2 separate regions of the Homo sapiens genome follow, and region 1 is linked to region 2. The links are contacts of gene promoters, found by promoter capture Hi-C in blood cells and fetal thymus (Javierre and others, 2016). All regions are on one chromosome and are shown on one strand. Each heading gives the region's core, a stretch centred on a gene start or on the middle of the fragment in contact. The rest is flanking DNA. Distances are from core to core; before and after follow the strand shown.

Evidence for each region. The method cuts DNA at HindIII sites, captures the fragments that hold promoters and counts their contacts. A CHiCAGO score of 5 or more calls a contact.
Region 1: a contact is called between a fragment that was not itself captured here and the fragment with the promoter of MARCHF7 in region 2, in 1 of 17 cell types (megakaryocytes). The highest score is 6.0, in megakaryocytes.

The regions. Positions count from the first base shown.
Region 1 is chr2:159,187,772-159,193,324 of GRCh38, forward strand. All of the region lies in intron 16 of TANC1 (tetratricopeptide repeat, ankyrin repeat and coiled-coil containing 1), which reads left to right. Among named protein-coding and RNA genes, the nearest start is that of MIR6888, 3.7 kb to the left of the region's middle. The HindIII fragment of the contact is 482 bases long and covers 3,842-4,323 here.
Region 2 is chr2:159,708,277-159,714,169 of GRCh38, forward strand. MARCHF7 (membrane associated ring-CH-type finger 7) reads left to right here and starts at 4,230. Exons shown (of 12, transcript NM_001282805.2): 1 at 4,230-4,330. It also overlaps a transcript of BAZ2B not described here. RefSeq lists silencers at 3,679-4,188, 4,709-4,828 and enhancers at 3,805-4,471, 4,239-4,518. The HindIII fragment of the contact is 3,093 bases long and covers 1,423-4,515 here.

The sequences.
Region 1 (5,553 bases), core at 2,833-5,332, 520 kb before region 2:
TTCAGCTAAGAGTGTATCTCTCGGCTTCTCCATAACTAATAAAATTCTATAATCATAAGAAAGATGAGAATAAAAATGGCAATATGTTTTCATATGTTAATGAATTTCTGGGCATAGAATTTATTTTAATATGGAAATAAGTAAATGGGAAACATCTGTTGAGTACAAGTTTTTAAGACAGTAAATTTAAAGGTACTGCATAATAGTGTAATGAGCATGGCCCTCCTGAGATTATAAACTTTGCTCTTTAACGTATGTGCGATTTTAAGAGTTAATCATTTTTACTTTGTTTTGTAAAACTCCAGTGTCACCTACATCTACACCATCTCCGAAATTATTTCTATAATGTGGTTATAGAATCTTAAGTCTTTTCATTATCCTTCTGTTTCTTTTATCTTTCAAGGGGGGAAAACGGTTTTCACAGGATCTTGAACAAATTACAGTAATTTTAAATTATGCATGCAATTAAGGAACTTTTTTTAGAGTGTATTAAATGTTGTCATACAGGAATGAATGTCATTTTGAACAATAATTGCAGTTTGCCACTTTGGTAAATTAAAGTGACTTGCTCTGGGATGATTACTTGGTAGATGGATTTTAGTTGCAGTGGCATGCCAGCAGTCTCTAACCATGTTGTCTCCTGTGGCCAGGCCAGGATGGGGCCAGCCTGGGCCCCGCTGGCCCACTGGAGTCCCATCCAGCCAGTGGTTTTGTTGTACCATCTCATAGGACTGGTGGCCAGCCGCAAGCTGTGGCCTCAGGAGGATTTAGGTTGCAGTTCTTTTCTCAGCTGACAACAGAAAGGAGAGGAGAACAGGAGCTAGGTGTGGCCTTTGGCCCAACTTCCCTTGGCCGGGAGATCCAGTCATATCCTACATCATAGTCAGGAAGGACACATTTTAAAACAATTGTGCTTGTGTGAGCTTCCAGTGTACTTAGTGGGAATGCTGATGCTGCCCTATGGCCACCCTGGCCAAGCCTCTTCTGGTCCTCATGATCGTATTGCCTCGCATATCCCCAGCTCCCTTCCTGTTTTCCTGTTTTCATTAAATCCAGAAGTTGAGAGATACCACCACTTCTGAGTGTTGTCCAAGGAGGGCTTCTGTGATCATGGTCGGAAAATTTCCATATCGTTGGGGGAAAATCTATAGGATGAATCATTTAAACAGGTTCCTTCAGCACAGTGCCGTCTCAGCCAAGACTGCTGCTCTGCCACCTGGCTGCTCTGTGACCATCATTAGCTTTGTGCTTAGCGCTCAGCTCGGCCTTACTCCCTCTGAGCCTTGGCTTTCTCACCTATAAAGTGGAGACACAAAAGAGGCTGTCTCTCAAGTGATGAGAAACCTTACTGAGATGTTAAAGGTACTGGGAACATACTTGGCATTTATTATGTTTACATGAATTGTTGTTAGTGCTTTGCCTCATCTCTGGAAACAGTGGCTCTGCTGTAGGCACCTGGGAAGTTTTGGATGTGCCAGTTGGTGCTTGTTAACAGGAGCTGCCGACCTTGAGGATGTGATGGTTGCAGGTGACTTACCTCTGCCCTCATCTCGGCATGAGGTGTCCCTGCTGCTCTGTGCTGGTGAACAGCCCAGGCTGGGCATGCAGGGTGATGTGGACAGGAGGGCAGAGCTCCCTCCTGTGCCTTCCAGAGGTCAGGGACCTGAGTTCTTGTCGTTTCTGAAGACTCCATGAAAGGTTGATTATAACATCGATTAATGTTTATTTAACATGTACAGATGCTGAGTGCTGTGCTAAATGCTTAATGCACATATATATACATACACTTTTTTTTTTACACATTGATTTTTAATCTTTACAACCACCAAGTGAAGTGAAACTTTTATCCTCATTTTTTTAGATGAGAAAACTGAGGTTTAGGGCAGTTGATACTTTCCAAAATCACACAGCTGGAAGGGCGCCTGACACTCAGCAAGCCCTTGCTCTGCAGGTGCCTTTATCACTTGATGTGTTTACAGCCCTGGCTGCCAGCTAAAATCACCTGGGAGCTCTGGGCACCACAGCCCCAGCCCCAGTTAAGTCAGAATCTCCAAGAGTGGGGCCAGGGTATTGGAAACTTTCAAGCTCCCAGGTGGTTTCAGTGTGCATCAAGGTTAAGAACCATAGTTTAGGGGAAGGTGATGGAGGGTTAAGTGGTAAAAATACGTACAGCATTACACCGACAAAGGAAAATGTTATTCCCAGAAGCAGAGGAAGTGTGAATTGATGACATCTTTAGGAAACCTCTGCCCTGAGCACATGCCTTCCAGGTAAACTCTTGTAAGGGATTCATCATGGTACTCCAAGTATACCTTCCACCATTATTAGCAAAAGAGTACCTGTTAGATAGAATGGGATGGCATGCTGCTGTTTTCTTAGGTGGCACCTAAAGCACAGAGAGGTTGAGGAATTTTCTGAAAATCACACAGTAGGTTAGTTTGGGGGCTGGCTGAGAACTCACACCACTTAATCCTTCATTTTTTAGGCCCATGGATCTCAAGAAGGTATGGGGTTGATGGGGGAGGACAGAATGTAACTGGCTGGCAAAATTATCCAGGGAATTTACAAATGATCCTGCCCATCCTGTGGCTAGCAGAGTCTGGTGTGCCCCTTGGTGGCATTGCGTGTATTTCCAGATGTGTATCTTCTCTACTCCTCTTGCTGAGGACTGGTTTCATTGGCCTTAATAAAATCCTATTTCTTCAGCATAATCTGATTCTGTCCACGCTGTTACTCAAAGGGATTTTTAAAACACTTTTATTATTTTATTTTTATTTTTATTTATTATTATTATTTTGAGATGGAGTTTTGCTCTTGTTGCCCAGGCTGGAGTGCAATGGCGTGATCTTGGCTCACTGCAACCTCCGCCTCCTGGGTTCAAGTGATTCTCCTGCCTCAGCCTCCCGAGTAGCCGGGATTACAGGCGTGTGCCACCGCAACCAGCTAATTTTTGTATTTTTAGTAGAGACTCAGTTTCACCATATTGGCCAGGCTGGTCTCAAACTCCTGACCTCAGGTGATCCACCCACCTCGGCCTCCCAAAGTGTTGGGATTACAGGCGTGAGCCACCATGCCCAGCCACACCTTTATTAATGTTGTAGCATAATGCAGTCTTAAAATGCTTTTGAATTAGATCAGAGTCTGGTGGCATTTTTAAAAAGCAAGCCTATATAGATCTGTAGAGCAGGCTTGGTGGGGATTAATTAAGTCATTTGCCTGAAGTTGCCCATGAAACAGCAGTGTTAGGACTGGACACCCTTTCTGATCTCTCATCCATTCCTCCACAAGTACAAGTTGACAGCGAGACCCTAGAGGCTGGGTTGGTGTTCACCTGGATCTGGCTAGACAGTGGTCTCTCTGATGGTGTAGACAGCGGGGTGGTGGTCAGGTGGTTGGCTGGCTCCTTGTCACTTGCACATGGCCTGTTCTTCCTTAAATGTAGATGGCAGTCCCAGCAGTGTGAAGAAACTGATGTGTGGGTCATCCCCATCCATGGAGGGGCTCTGTTTGCCTTTCTTCTCTGTGAACTTCTGTATCGTAGAACCAGTGTCTGGTGCAGTGGACTAAGCAGGAAAACAGAGCATGCTGAGGGATAGAGAGGGCCTGGGTGCACAGGGTACCCTCTCCCCCATGTCCTGGCACTGGAGCAGAGCCCTGCAGGAAGTGATTATATTTATGGAATGAGCATTCCAGTCAGGGAACTAAAAGGGGGTAAAGACCATGAGGCCGGCCCTGCTTGGCATTGTCACAGCACGTGTTGGGTCCAAGGTGGCTGCAGTGAGGGAAGGATTCTGCAGAGAAGATCAGAGAGGAAGCTGGAGGCCTGTATCACAGAGGTTCAAGCTTCAGCAGCCAAGACATCTTCAAATTTGACACCTGGGGTTCTAACCTGTCACTATGCCATTGTGAGTTATGGTTTCACTACTTGGTAGTATAATTTTCCAGACCCATTTGTTTGTAAATATTCTGTTTGTCAGCTACTCTTGTGGACATCTATCACTGAAATACCATGAAGTTTTTATGCCTTGTCATCTCTCTGTATCTTTTAATGATCCCCATGTGTCTCTAGTCAATAAATGATAGTCTCTGTGGTTTTCACATTTAGTGGGCAGGTGGAGGACCTGCCAGGCTTTGGCAGGGGCAGTGATTGATGTGGGTCAGGACCATTGAAGTAAGCCATTGAAAGAAACACACTGGGCATCTTAATAGCTGTTAAAGGAGCATCATTTGTATCTAATGATCTGAAGATCTGAAAAAAAAAATATTATTATACCTAAAATTTGCGTATGTTCAGTAATTTTATTTTAAAACCTGTAGATAAAAAGCTTTTCCCAATACCTAGATCCAGGGAGATTACTAAGTGGGGGATATAGTAATTAGTGGAAGCAGCACATTATTTTCTAGCAGTATTATGCTGCGGACAATCATGGCACATGTGGACATTTCCATATTTTCTGTTTCTTTTAGGAACACATCCCTATAAAGTATTTGTATTTACTTTTGGCCTTATCTCACTATTAACACCATGACTATTTTTTTCTTTTTAAAAACATTTTTTATAGAGACGGGGTCTTGCCATGTTGCCCATGTTGGTCTCAAACTCCTGGGCTCAAGCAGTCCTCCCTCCTCAGCCTCCTAACATACTGGGATTACAGTTGTGAGCCACTGCACCCAGCCACAATTATTACTTCATTACCAGGAAAATGAATTTCCTGGTTTTGTTGAGGTTAAACAGTGATTTTTCAAAGTGTGGTTCCCCAAACCAAGAGTGTCAATATCAACGAGGAACTTATTAAAAATGTACCACCCAGATATAATGAATCAGAAATCAGGGGGTGGGGCCCAAGAATTTGCAGTTGTTTAGGTTTTTTTTGTTTTTGTTTTTGTTTTGCTTTTGAGACGGAGTCTTGCTCTGTCCCCCAGGCTGGAGTGCAGTGACGTAATCTTGGCTCATTGCAGCCTCCACCTCCTGCGTTCAAGCGATTCTCCTGCATCAGTCTCCTGAGTGGCTGGGATTACAGGCGTGCGCCACCACGCTGGCTAATTTTTGTATTTTTAGTAGACACGGGGTTTTCACCCTGTTCTTCAGGCTGGTCTCGAACTCCTAACTGCAGGTGATCCGCCCGCCTCAGCCTCCCAAAGTGGTGGGATTACAGGCATGAGCCACCTTGCCTGGCTATTTGTTTAGTTTTTATTTTTAATTATGGTTAAGAAACACATAAAAGGAAATTTACCATCTTAACCATTTTTAAGTCTGCAATTCAGTAGTGTTAACAATATTCACATTGTTGTGCGATAGATGTCCAGTACTTTTCATGTTGCAGAATCAAAACTCTATATCCCTTAAGCAACAACTCTCATTTCCCCTGTGCCCAGGCCCAGAAACCTTCATTCTACTGTCTGTGAATTTGATTACTGTATATATCTCATAAGTAGTTTCACTCAGTATTTGTTCTTTTGCGTCTGGCTTGCTTCACTTATTTCACTTCCCCGAGGTTTACCCATGTTGTCACATATGGCAGGATTTTCTCCCTTTTTAAGCAGGAATAATCC
Region 2 (5,893 bases), core at 2,980-5,479:
TGGAATGAGGCCTCATGTACTTAAAAACATGAATAAAATGTATCTGCTTTTCTTAAGCATTCTATATATTTCAGGCAGTGTGCAAGGTTTGAATTCCAAGTGTTCCACAAATTGGGGATTATTCCTGGTGAGGCCAGATATTCTAGAGCAACTAAAAGCAGGAATGATCTTTCTAGAAGCAGTGAGATCTAGCCTGTAAGCTTAGATGTAAGAGAGGTTTCTCAGACAGGGTTTCAAGATGGTATTCTCTTTACGTGTTTTAATAACCTTTTATTTATTTATTTATTTATTTATTTATTTATTTCTTTATTTATTTATTTTGAGATAGGGTCTGTCACCCAGGCCTGAATGCAGTGGCATGATCCCCGCTCACTGCAAGCCTCAACCTCCTGGGCTCAAGCAATCCTCCTGCCTCAGCCTCCCAAGTAGCTGGGATTATAGGCATGCACCAATGCACAGGGCTAATTTTTAAAATTTTTTTGTATAGATGGGGCCTTGCTTTGTTGCCCACGCTGGTCTCAAGCATCCTCCTGACTCAGCCTCTCAAAGTCCTGGGATTATAGGCTTGAGCAACTACATCTGGCCTCTATATCCTTTTAAATACTGGCTTGGGGAATTGAAAGTTTTTGATGCTAATCCAGTAGAAGTCAACCAACAGAATTTTTTGGATGTTCATTTACTAAATATGGCAACTTTAAATAAAACTTGATGTGGGGAAAATAAAAATTTATAAAGGCACTAAATCGAGAGTTTATTATTTTTGTTATGAAAGGAATCCCTTACATCAAAGACTTAGAACAATGGACCTTTAAGTAATATATCCCTTAGAAGTAGGAGTCCTCATGACATTTTGGGCTGGATAAAAAAAGAAAAAAAAAAAGAAGCAGGGATCCTTGGCCAGGCGCGGTGGCTAACGCCTGTAATCCCAGCACACTGGGAGGCCGAGGCAGGCAGATCACCTGAAAAAATTGTTCTCAATCAGGTAGACAGTAGAATGATAGTTATCAGAGGCTGGGAAGAGTATGTGTGTGGTGGGGGTGGGGACAAAAAGAGGATGGTTAATGGGTACAAATATAAAGTTGGATAAAAGGAGTAAGTTCTAATGTTTGATAATAGAGTAGAATGACTATAGTTAACATCATATTGCATTATTTCAAAATAGCTAGAAGGGAAGACTTGAAATACTACCCACACAGAAGTCATAAATGTTCTAGATGATGGTTATCCTAAATACCTTGACTTGATCATTACACATTCTATGTATGTAACAAAATATCCCATGTATCCCATAAATATATACAAATATTATGTATCAATAAAAAATTATATGATTTGCAAAAAGCAAATGTAACCACATCTTTTCAATGTCCCACCATTTATGCAAAGTAAAGGATATCTCTACAACTACCCTTGCCAAAGAGAAGCTTTTTAGAAGATTAGGTTGTGGGATGAATAAAAGAGGGGAAAACAAGAACTTTGAAATTCAATATCTGAAAGAGCATTCTAAGCTATCAGGTGGAAGAAATGCTCAAAACATAAGAGTAAAGGGTTGAATGACCATGGGTAAATAACAGACAAGTTTATAAAATAAAAGGGGGAAAATTGGTTAATAGTCAATAAGATGCTAACTTAGAGAAGAAGCCAAGTTTAAAAATGAAAACTAAGGTGAGTGGTGAGGGCAAGTGGTGAACAAAGATATTTAGATACAGAAAGGTATGTCAGAGTCACTCATAAAGGATAAAAAGTAGCAAGGGAAGGTCAAGTGGGGGAACTCTGTGGATAAAAGGCAAGCACGGTGTCTAGATTGTCTGGAACAGTTTTGACTTCAAACACTTGCCTGTCAAATCACTTTGTGACGATTTTTAGTTAAGAAACTATGGTCATTTTCCATGACCATGTTTTACCTATTCACATCCATAATTCCTAGCAAAATGTCTTTTTTTTTTTTTTGAGATGGAGTTTCACTCTGTTGCCCAGGCTGGAGTGCAGTGGCATGATCTTGGCTCACTGCAACTTCTGCCTCCTGGGTTCAAGTGATTCTTCTGCCTCAGCCTCCCAAGTAGCAGGGACTACAGGCGCCTGCCACCACGCCCGGCTAATTTTTTGTACTTTTAGTAGAGACAGGGTTTCACTGTGTTAGCCAGGATGGTCTCGATCTCCTGACCTCGTGATCCACCCACCTTGGCCTCCCAAAGTGCTGGGATTACAGGCATGAGCCACGGCGCCCGGCTGCAAAATGTCTGCAGCATAGCAAAATCTCAATAATTATTTATCACTCATGATAATTACCTGAATACTAAAATCAGAGAGAGTACATTAAAAAGAAACACAACGAACCATTCTTAAATAATAAAAACATATTCATCAGTGGTCTTTATTTACTAGCACCAATAAAAAACTAGAAGCTCTGTTTAGCATAGGAAATTGGTGTCATACTCACTTTATAATATCATCAGTGCTGGGTGGGGACAAAGCCATAATCTGCCAAAATCTGCACCATCCTTGCCAGGTTTGGGAGTTCTGTAGAGTAGTTACCACTGCCAGGTCTGACTGCCATAGCTCAGGAAAAGGGTGCAGTCATTTCTCTTAGCATAATCTTGAGAAGATGTCTAAGAGACCTATGTAATATTAAGTCACAGAAAGAAACAATATTATTGGTGGTTTAGACATGGAATGTAATAGCTAACAATTACGGAATGCTTACTTGTTTCAGGAACTGACGTGTTATCTCATCTAAACAATGCTACAGAGCATGGGTACTGTTATTAACCCCGTTTTACAGGAAACCTAGGTTTAGCAAGGTTAAGGAATTGCTTGAGATAACAAAGGTAGTAAGAGGCAGGGGTGGAATTTGAAGCCATATAGTCTGGTTCTTCAGGGTGTATACATCCGTGTATCTATAACCACAATGCTGCAGGGGCACTCGAACAGGCTGGAAAAGAATTATTTTTCTTTAAAGGGCAAATTAATTTCCTCAAAAGTAATCTCTGTTCACTTTATCCCATACCAGATGCTTATTTTCATTTCATATCCTAAAAGTTAGATTGGCACTTACATGCCAACTTAAAATACCTTTAAGTCTTTAAAATTTATAGTATTTTAGAATTTATCATAGTGAAACATGTACAGTCTGTTAGTCCCCAAGACAATAAAATAAGGATGATAGTGACTGATACTCCATTCCCTTCCGATGTAATGACAAACACGTAGAAACACTGTGTTTCATTTATTGGAATTATTTGGATCCAAAGGATTGCTTTTAATACCTTAACAAAATAGGTCATTAAAAAAAATCAAGTGCCTTTCAGTATTCTTCCAAGTTTCAATAACTGATCTTTTCCATTAAAAAACTTTTGATTCATTATTCCAAATCAACATATCATCTAAATATTTACACATAGTTAGATGTAGCTTTTCCCTAACCTACTCCCTTTTATTTATTAGTACTCATTTACATCTTAGTTTGCCACATTTACAGTTCTTTGAAAGTTTCATCTAATATTCACCAGACCATTCACCTCACAATTTTCCTCCCTCTTTCTAAATAGGTGAATTTGTTTACTGCAAAATCGATGGCTACGCTATTAAAGGTTACTATCACGATTTTAAAAGACATGATCACCATCATTTACCAAGATTCTTACCACAAGGAAATGATCACAAGGTTGGACAAACAGGCTCCAACTCTTAAGGGAAAGGGCTTGCAGTTAGATCACACAGGGCGGGCAGGGAAGCAAGCGGGGAGGGGTAGGTCGGAAAAGGCAGTGCTTGATTCAATTCAACATTCACTGCGCCACTTACCAAGAGCCAGAAAAAGAAAAAAAAAAAAAAAAAAAGCCAACCAGCTGGGCGTTATTTCGAGCACGGGGCCCTGCAGGTGGGCCTGTGGGCGGGGACCCGGCGCCCGGGAGGGAAGGGGCTGGCTCAGAGACTATAGACGGGCGGGGACCGCCCCGGCCCGGGCCTCCAGCGCCCGGCGCCCGCACACTCGCCAGCCCAGCTGCCGGCACGCCGGCCAGCCAGCCGCTGCCGCTTACCAGTGGCGCCTCGCTGACTCCCCGGGGGCAGCTCTTCAACGGTTCCCGCAGTCAGAGCACCACCCCGCGGTGGGGTACCTCCAGCCCGCCCGCAGCTCTCGGTCCCCGCCGCGCCGCCACTCTCGCGAGAAGCCAGGAAGTCCGCGAAGTGGGGGGAGGAGGAGCAGGGAGGGGCACTTAACGGTGGTGGCTGGTTCTGCGCCGGATCCGGGAGAGGGGCGGGCGCCATTGTGCTTCGCTGCCGACTGCATTTCCTCAGTCACGGGCCTAGAACTCCAAGGAGAAAGGCGGCGGTGCGTGTTGCTGCGAGTGGGACGCGCACTGGTCGGTGCCGGCTCAGGAGCCGGGGTAATGAGCTGCGGAGCTAGTTCTTCTCCGTCTTGGGCGCTAGTTCGGGACCAGGCCGCGAGTGGGGGAGGGGAGGAAACGAAGAGGCCTGGGGACGCGGAGGCCGCTTCCTCTCAGGATGAGGTGGAGAAGCTTGGTCCGGGGCCACCGGGGCCAAGGGGCCACAGCGCAGGCCTCCCTTGCCAGGGGCCTTTGGTCGGGTGGTGGAGTTTGTGGCGGGTGCAGGGGACAGATTGTGTGTCTTCCTCAGGGACGTGTGGCGGGTGACGGGAAGAAGCCTGAGCCCTCCTTTGGCGCGGGGCGGCCTCCTCTTGGGCCGTGGGGCGGGGGGTCTTCGGAGCCCTGCGGGCCGCGGGTGTCGCGCGTGAGCTCGCCGGTGAGCGCGGGGCAAAGGCGGGCAGGGCTCCGGCTCGGCCAGCCCGGCCTCGAGTCGAAGTGACTTCGGTAGCCCCTTAGATTCGGCCAAGATTGTCTTATTGGTAACGTCAGTTTTTGAATATCGTGACGCCCTGAGAGTTATTTTTGTGTTGTGGTGAATTGTGGGTTCTGCAACTCGAAGTAGGTGATTGTATTAAAAATGGACCTGTTGGCCTAAGAAGTAAAAATATAGAAGGCGCCGGGAGTAGGAAACTCCCTCATTTTGGTGAAACTGCGTATTGAAGATGTGTGTCCACCCCCTCACCCCAAAATGCTGCACTTAATACTTTTTCTCAAGTACCAAAGTAAATATATTGGGAAAGTCTATCTGGGTAATAAATTCGTCACGACTAATGTTGTTTGTTACTATTAGTTAAATGTGTGAAAACTGAAATTTGGCGAGGTTTTCTCCCCCATTTTGTAGGATTGATTAGCTATTTTTCTGATTACATGTTATTTTAAATCTCCACCTTTCTGTCCAGAACCAAGATGTAGGATTAAAGATGAATTTTCGATTTAAAAATCCAATAGTATACAGTTATTAAGAAGGCACACATGTAGTGTAACTAGATCTTTTACTTGAGGTAGCAAAAAGTTTGTTTGAGAAATGAGGTCAGTATAATATTTTTATTTAACAGCTCTACAGCATTTTGGGAGACAGGACTGGTGCATGAGGCAGTAGCACCAGACTCAGAAGACCTGGGTTTGAGTCTTGATTTTTGCCATAGTTATTTAAGTTCACGAGATTGTCTCAGAAACATGGCAGTTAATTTCTAGAGAGGATTAAATTTGCTGAGGTGGTGTGTGAAGCAGTCACTAGGGGACATAATACTAGTCTTGGTTTTTTTCCAAGTTTAGTGCTGGGTCAGGTGTCTTGAATTAAGAATTCCTACTTATTCAAGTACAAATGATTTCTTTTTTCTGCCACCTGGAAGAGGGCTATTTTCCCAGATAAAGCACGAGGATGCCCAGGTTATGTTCTACATGAAGGTGTCAGGTAACGAACTTGGACACAAAAGTCATCCATGACTCTCATGTAGCCAATTTTTAGTCCGCTCCATACCCACCTTACACAACTCTTTTATCTGCTC